Regions from separate parts of the Homo sapiens genome. Here all the other regions are linked to region 3. Evidence: promoter capture Hi-C in 16 types of primary human blood cells and fetal thymus (Javierre and others, 2016). All regions are on one chromosome and are shown on one strand. The core of a region is centred on a gene start or on the middle of the fragment in contact, and the rest is flanking DNA. Distances in the headings are between cores, read along the strand shown.

Region 1 (2,700 bases), core at 125-2,624, 2.7 Mb before region 3:
AAAAAAAATCCTATTATAGGCCGGGTGCAGTGTGGCTCATGCCTGTAATCCCAGCGCTTTGGGAAGCCGAGGCAGGCGGATCACGAGGTCAGGAGACCGAGACCATCCTAGCTAACACGGTGAAACCCCGTCTCTACTGAAAATACAAAACAGAAAAACAAACAAACAAAAAAATTGTCTGGGCATGGTGGCGGCCGCCTGTAGTCCCAGCTACTCGGGAGGCTGAGGCAGGAGAATGGCGTGAACCCAAGAGGCGGAGCTAGCAGTCAGCAGAGATCGCGCCACTGCACTCCAGCCTGGGCGACAGAGCGAGACTCCGTCTAAAAAAAAAAAATCCTATTAGAATCTGTGGGACCAGATTTCTGCAAAGCACCCAGACTGCTGGTTTTATTTCTATGTTTTAATCTCAAACTTGTGTTATTTTTCTCTTGACTATTTATGACTGCACCTATAATTTCTATTTTCATTCCTTTTTTAATGTCTTACTTATGAAAATCATTTCTTAATTCTACAAATGAAGTATTGACATTTTAGTGGCATCTTTTATAAAAAATATATTTTCCCTTCCCAAAAAGTTAATATTGGGCCATAAAAACCTTCAGTCCTGTCTGATAATAAAATATAGAAAATATCAATTGAAGATGTTTTATTCCAAATGACATTGCCACGTACTTTTTAATAGTATTAGAGTAATTCCCTTAATTGTTTCATGGAAAAAAATCCATTAAGATCCTTTAATGAAGAAAACATATATTTGTAATGGACCAAATGGCAATGTGCCCTTGTCTGAAGCAATTACACTGTCCAATAAAGGAAGACTCACATTCAAATGTGGTACCTTTGAACACCAAATATTACAAGAATTCCTAGTCAGCAGGATGCTATGCCAAAAGCACTCCACAAATGGTTTTCCCCTTTCTTACTATCTCGTGGCCTCATTCTAAAGATCTCTTCAATACTTCTATTAGCATACTAGAGAGTTTCAACATAGACTTTAACATTCCATGCTTATCTGACCCTGGGCTATTAAAATTGGTAAACATTATGAATCTTCTCATTTGAACATGGCTTTGACTATCTTATGTTTCTGCGTTTCTTCCTGCCTTGCTCTTTCTTAATGCGAGCCACGTCTCTGCCCTCTGTTTTGCTTATTGTTTCCCTTCTCTCTTGTTTGTTCAGCTTCTGTACAATCATTTCTCTTTGCTCTGGCCCTTGCTCTAGCCTCATGTTCATTTCAGCCTCCGCCTTTTTTCCTTTTCAAACGTCTTTGATTCCAGTTGACAGTTTAAGATTTTTTTTTTCTTTTACTTCCCAGAGGCTCCTGTTGCCATAGTGATACTTGATTACGAAGGCCATGACTGCTTCCATTGACACTCTGGTTGCTATAACAATGCCAGTTAGCCAAGAATTCTGTGGAAACTTGTGAGAAGGATGCTAGTTCACACCTTTCTGTGGGACAGCTTGCCAGGAAATGCTTCTTATTTAATGGTTGTTCCTAGTACTAAAACTTAAGTCCGTAAACTTAAGGGCAGCTCATTCTTCAGTAACTAAAAAACAGAGACACAAATATTTACTCTTCACACCATGTAAAATTCCTCTTCTTCCCTGACTTTGCTTGCCCTCTATTCCTAATCTATTAATTCTTTGGTATTAAAAATATGTTTGCTATGGGCTGAATTGTGTCCTCCCAAAATTCATATGTTTAAGCCTTAACCCTCAATGTGACTGTTTTTGAAGATAGGGCTTTTAGGAAGCAATTAAGGTTAGATGAAGCCATTAGGGTAGGGTTCTAATCTGATAGGCTTCGTGGCCTTATAAGAGGACACATGTTTTCAGTTATAAGTGGGAGCTAAATACTGAGTACACACGGACACAAAGAAGGGAGCAATACACATCTAGGCCTACTTGAGAGTAGAGGGCAGGAGGATGGAAAAACTACCTATTGGGTACTATGCTTATTACCTGTGTGACAAGATAATGTGTACACCAGCCCCCCACAGCACATGATTTATTTGTAGAACCAGTTTGCACATGTACCCCTGAAACTAACATAAAAGTGAAACAAAAAAGAGGGCACTGCAAGAAAGCAGCCACCTGCAAGCCAGGAAGAAAACCCTAACTAGGAACCGAATCAGACGGCATCTTGGTCTTGGATTTCCCAGGCTTCAAAAGTATGAGGAAATACGTTTCTGTTGTTTAAGCCACCTATTCTATGGTATTTATGACAGCACAAAGTGACTAACATGACACCCTAATATTATTTAACATCAATACCTCCTAAGTGCTTTTGATTTTAAAGACATCAATTTCTGGGAATATACCCAAGTAAGAGAATCACAGAATATTGCGATGTGCATTGTCAGTCTTTTGTCTTTGAATACTAGATGAACCAGGTGATAAAAATGGACACATTTGGCCAGGCGCGGTGGCTCATGCCTGTAATCCCAGCACTTTGGGAGGTCGAGGTGGGCGTATCACCTGAGGTCGGGAGTTCAAGACCAGCCTGACCAACATGGAGAAACCCCATCTCGACTAAAATACAAAATTAGCCGGGCTTGGTGGCATATGCCTGTAATCCCAGCTACCCGGGAGGCTGAGGCAGGAGAATTGCTTGAACGCAGGAGGCGGAGGTTGTGGTGAGCCGAGACCACCCCAACACAGTCCATCCTAGGCAACAACAGTGAAACTCCGTTTCAAAAA
Region 2 (2,700 bases), core at 177-2,676, 2.4 Mb after region 3:
GATAAAACAACTTCTACCAGTGTTTACCAGCCTAAAGTCTTGCATACCGTCTTGATTCTTGTCATATCTGTGTACCACCTCTACTGTAATTTACCTAATATGTGTATGCCAGTTGGCTTATATTTTTGCATAAATGAACTTAGTTGTTTAAAAACTATATCATTGCCATGAAATCACGACTTTGGTGTATATATATATTTTTTATTTATTTATTTATTTATTTTGAGACGGAGTCCCACTCTGTTGCCCAGGCTGGAGTGCAGTGGTGCAGTGGTGCGATCTCGGCTCACTGCAAGCTCCGCCTCCTGGGTTCACGCCATTTTCCTGCCTCAGCCTCCCAAGTAGCTGGGACTACAGGTGCCCGCCACCACACACAACTAATTTTTTTGTATTTTTAGTACAGATGGGGTTTCACCATGTTAGCCAGGATGGTCTCAATTTCCTGACCTCGTGATCCGCCCGCCTCGGCCTCCCAAAGTGTTGGGATTACAGGCTTGAGCCACCTTGCCCGGCCATATTTTTCTAACATACAATACAATAAAATGTACAAGTAAAAATTGCTTTCAAATGTTCTTCCCTGTAACAGTAAACATAGTTTTTACATCAATGGGGTAGCCTTACAATATCTGAGAAAACACTAATAAAAGGGAATAATCTGATCCCACCTTTCCTCCAAAGATGGCTCTAAGGAAAAATGTAAATAGGGAAGTTTTGTATTGAGGGCCTCATTCCTCATCCATGTTCTCCTTCCTTTAAACAGTAATCACATAAATCACTGGGGGTGGGGCCTGGGTATCGAGTAATTCTAATATGAGCTAGGGGTAAAAGCCATTATGTCATTTCCCTTTCAAAAGACATTTCTCCTCAACAATGAACCTCATTCCTCCTACCACTTCCATAGGGCCAGCCTTTATGCACTGAGAGAAAGCCAATTTTCAGGCTGTCCTAAATTCATACTACATCAATATGTCTATACATCCACTACTGACAGGCTTGTTTTACTTATTTCATTCTTCCTTTCTTCTTATTCTGTTTCGTTATTTTATTAGCTAAAATAAATGACTTTTCTGATTTTGGAAGCAAATGTTCAACGAAAGAAAATTTAGAAAGTAAAAATAAGTAACAAAAGTAAACACTTTAAAGGCCCATAATACCACTTTTAACACTGCAGGACATATATCAAAACCCTTTCTAGAATATGAGTCAGAGTGTTATTTAGAAAATGGTATGTGCTGAATGCACCACTGTAAAAGAAGGAGAGATGCTTTTTCCTCCCTCACTCCCAAGCAAATTTCGTGTTCTAAGTCTGAGCTTCCTAGCCTCAGCCACTTGTTAATAAGTATAGTTGCAGAGCTACAAACCAGAAGCCAGGAGGTGCTAGAAAGCTAACACTCTATCCACCCAGAAAGAGACTAGTCCTGAGAGTGGAGGCCTAAGCCAGGAGGACAGAAGTTTTGCCAAGGAGGAGACCAGTGGCATTGGGTTCAAGAAATGGTGAAGATCTATGCCCCACTCCCAAACAGTCCTCAAGCAGTGACCTGGACTGAACCCCAGGTTTTTGGCCTTGGCACACAACAAAAAATTCCCGTGCCCAGCTTGGTAGAGGAAAGGAAGCTGCCCTCTTAAAAAGGGCAATGAACATCCTAAAATCCTCAACAGCTTTATAAATCAAGAAGAGCCTCCTAAAACTCAACTGAGATGGAATGTCCTGCTAGTTGTGGTCGGTGGGAGGGGACAAATTGATCTAATTTGGAATTGTTAAGGCCCATTGACCTAAACCACCAGATTTCTGGAGCCTCTTGATAAGAGGGAGTTGAGAGGGCTTCTTATAAGATCTGGGAATTTAATGGATAAATTTAAGGAGAAATTAGGAAAGTAGGGATCAAATCTGGATGAGATTCTGTCAAAATGAAGGTACAATTTTTATCTTAGCAAGGAAAAAATTTTTATCTTAGCAAGGAAAAAATCTAAAGTGGGTAAGAGTTGTCATTCATTTAAAAAGAAAGAAAATAGCAGTCACTTCTGTTAAAAGAAGAATGTATCTAGTCATTTTTATGGTTATAGAGTGGCCTCATCTTTATCTTGTTCCAAACATAGTCACAGAGTGGCCTTGTCTGAACATTGTTTATATTCTGTAAGCATTGTTAGTGTTCACTTGGGAACGTCATGATCCAGCAGCCAGCAGCACAAATTTTTACTTTCCTAAACAAATAAAGGAATGTATCACCACTCAGACCAAACTAATATTTACTTTATATATATACACACACATACAAATAAAATATTATGCTATACATACTATTGGATAATATGCTTTATATAATGACATAGCATCAGTAGCTTTCCATGACAGTGTTCATCAGCATCACTTTAAATGTAGGAATGGAGCTCCATCATGCAGATGAGCCAAAACGTGTTTCATTAATCCCCCATTGCTCAACATTTAACATGTTTTCCTTTGTGTGTGTATGTGTGCGTGTGTGTGTGTGTGTGTGTGTGTATTAGTTTGCTAAGGCTGCTGTAACAAAATACCACAGACTGCATGGCTTAAATAAGAGAAATTTCTTTTCTCACAATTCTAGAGGCCAGAAGTCCCAAATCAAAATGTCAGCAGGATTGATTTCATTCTGAGGCCTCTCTCCTTGACTTGTAGATGGCTTTCTTCCTCCAGTGTCTTCACATGGTCTTTCTTCTGCGTAT
Region 3 (2,700 bases), core at 102-2,601:
ACGAGGTCAGAAGATCGAGACCATCCTGGCTAACACAGTGAAACCCCATCTCTACTAAAAATACAAAAAAATTAGCCGGGTATGGTGGCACATGCCTGTAATCCCAGCTACTCGGGAGGCTGAGGCAGGAGAATCGCTTGAACCTGGGAGGCAGAGGTTGTGGTGAGCCAAGATTGCGCCACTGCACTCCAGCCTGGGTGACAGAGTGAGACTCTATCTCAAAAAATAGAACAAAAAATAAAACAAAAACAAAAATGCCAATGTCATGAGACTCAGGGAAATGCACATGCATGTGCACATGTTCATGCACACACATATACACACACACACACCCCTTAGGAACAGTTCCAGGTGAAAAGAAACAAATGAGATGTGACAAAATGGACATACTTCATGATCTTGGATTTTCTATTGTCAGAAAGGACATCATTATGCAAATCAGTGCAAACCGAATAAAGTCTGTAGATTAGATAATAGCATTGAATCAGTGTTTAGTGCCTGACTTTGACAATAGTACTGTGATGTGTAAAAAAATTCCTTGTTTTTAGGAAATGCACACTAATATAATTAGGGGAAAAGGCATCATGTCTGCAACCTACTCTCAACTCTTATGCTGTTTGTTTTAATCACTTATGTGTGTGCCTGTGTATACACATCTTTTTCATGTATTTATAGAAAATACATGTGTTTATATATCAACAAATAAAAACTCCATAAGTTTTTATGGCTGCATTGAAAATGGTAGGAAATTAGGTAAATATTAGAGGGAAAACTAAGAACAGGATATAGGTCAAGCATTTTGATACAGGTATTATTTGACTTCTGTTCTTCTATCACCAATCTCCATATACCAAAGAAGAAAAGGTTTTCAATATAATTGTAAGTTGGAAAGTAATAACAAGAACATAGTATCTTAGAAATAATGGCAACTGGTACCTATTAACTCATCAAATCATTTCATGTGTCTATGTTCACACTGAGAAGGCAACATTCTTAATATCATCTAGCTCACTATTATGCAATGAACCAGTCTGGAACTTTATCCAGGATAAATCATGTGATATTTATGTTTGCATATTTTTTAGTTCAAGTGAAAATAAGCCAAAAATCTAAATTGAACGTAAAAGCAAGGGGAAACTAGGTTTTAAAGAAATGATGAATAGGATGTGATAACACTTCAATCTTTGAGAAAGGGGATATGAGATCACTGAAGAGGGGCTGCCTAACAGAAATGCAGGGTTCTAAATTCTAATTTTTGAAGAACATTGGTCCTAAGCTATCCTTCTATGAATAAAATATACTCTTTGGGGGTAAAAACTGTGTAAATGGGATAGGCTATATTGTAATTAACAAGCAAGAGGGAGAATAACAAATCACTCATGCTCTCAAAGCCCATACTTACAAAGAGAAAACAGGCACCGATCATTGCTGCTTTGACTGTTACATCTAGATCTGCAGGAACATGAATTCCGAAATTGTCAGCATTTGTGAAGACATCATTTACAAATCCTGACCAGTACTTTGAAATCTTCCCAATTGTAAGCTTTTCATTAATGGTTTTCACCTTTAGAAAGAAAATAAGGAGTATTAAATTTGACAGTGAAAAAAGTTGGTTTTATACTTCTGAGGGTGTTTACTTCATGAGAGATTTGAATTATTTTATTTGTCATCTTCAAAATGACAATTCCATGTTATTCATTCCATCATATAAGCATAGGTTTGTAAATTTAGCTTTTCAGTTTACTTTTTAGAAACTTTGCTTTTTTGACAGTTTTCTAGTCCATCATAATTCTTTTTCTTTTTTGTATGCAGATGGAGAATATCAGGATAAATAATTAAGGCTCAGCCACCACAAGATGGCAGCAGGTACATAGTTCAATTGTATCATCTAAGCATGAAGGCGATTTCTTTACTTGAGGTCCAGATTTTAAACCTGAATTCTCCATCTTAAAAATGTAAAAGAAGATATGTTTGAAAAAATATTTCAGAAGGAATTAAATTAATTTCTAGGCATAATTTGTAAACTTTCAAATTTCAGTTGCTAAAATTTTATAATTATTAAAACATTTAAATATTATTGGCCATTGTTAAATCACATTTTTATATTATACTCAGACATTTATTAGGTCAATACTTTCTAACAAATCCTAAATCCTATTTTTACATTAAAAAAATCCTCCTGGTTAATGTACCATATAGGAAGTTAAGACCAACTAGACATCAATCAGTCCTTCTCAGCTAGAAGGAGTTCACAAATCAACTTTATCAGCTATTTGTTTGTTTATTCTGCTTCCCATCCTGATGCTGAAAGTAATTCAAGAGAAACTATCACTTTTTTCAGGGTAGTAAAAGATAGAGAATAGAGAGGGTTACTTAGGACATTTCTATAGCATGAATGCTAAAACTCTTATGTTTAAAGTCCTCCTCAATCATATTACTCGTAGGAAAGTCATGCCAAATCCTTTGGGGATAGGGTGAAGTTGGAACAGCTCAGTTTGCAAAATTTGCATTGTATTCTACGTGCATAGTGTTTCCTGAAGTCCTGAGAACTAAATGCCCTTGCTGAGATATTTATGTATGAATGGATGAAAAATAAATATACACTTTCAATTAGGCTGTCTCCTCTACCTAAGTTGTATGTCCAGGACAACCTGTTAAGATAGTTTATATTGCTACAGATCAAATTTACAACTTTCTATT

What was found. The method cuts DNA at HindIII sites, captures the fragments that hold promoters and counts their contacts. A CHiCAGO score of 5 or more calls a contact.
Region 1: a fragment that was not itself captured here is called in contact with the fragment with the promoter of PLSCR5-AS1 in region 3 in 1 of 17 cell types (activated CD4 T cells); the score reaches 5.0 in activated CD4 T cells.
Region 2: a contact is called between a fragment that was not itself captured here and the fragment with the promoter of PLSCR5-AS1 in region 3, in 5 of 17 cell types (M1 macrophages, naive B cells, M2 macrophages and 2 more). The highest score is 10.8, in M1 macrophages.

The regions. Positions count from the first base shown.
Region 1 is chr3:143,896,826-143,899,525 of GRCh38, forward strand. No RefSeq gene overlaps it. Among named protein-coding and RNA genes, the nearest start is that of SLC9A9, 50 kb to the left of the region's middle. The HindIII fragment of the contact is 3,266 bases long and covers 1-2,700 here.
Region 2 is chr3:148,949,648-148,952,347 of GRCh38, forward strand. All of the region lies in intron 2 of LOC107986045 (a long non-coding RNA gene), which reads left to right. Among named protein-coding and RNA genes, the nearest start is that of GYG1, 41 kb to the right of the region's middle. The HindIII fragment of the contact is 6,256 bases long and covers 1-2,700 here.
Region 3 is chr3:146,588,251-146,590,950 of GRCh38, forward strand. It overlaps PLSCR5-AS1 (PLSCR5 antisense RNA 1), which reads left to right and starts at 1,352. Exons shown (of 2, transcript NR_046698.1): 1 at 1,352-1,538; 2 at 1,813-2,075. It overlaps PLSCR5 (phospholipid scramblase family member 5), which reads right to left. Exons shown (of 8, transcript NM_001085420.2): 6 at 1,403-1,564. The HindIII fragment of the contact is 1,724 bases long and covers 1-1,541 here.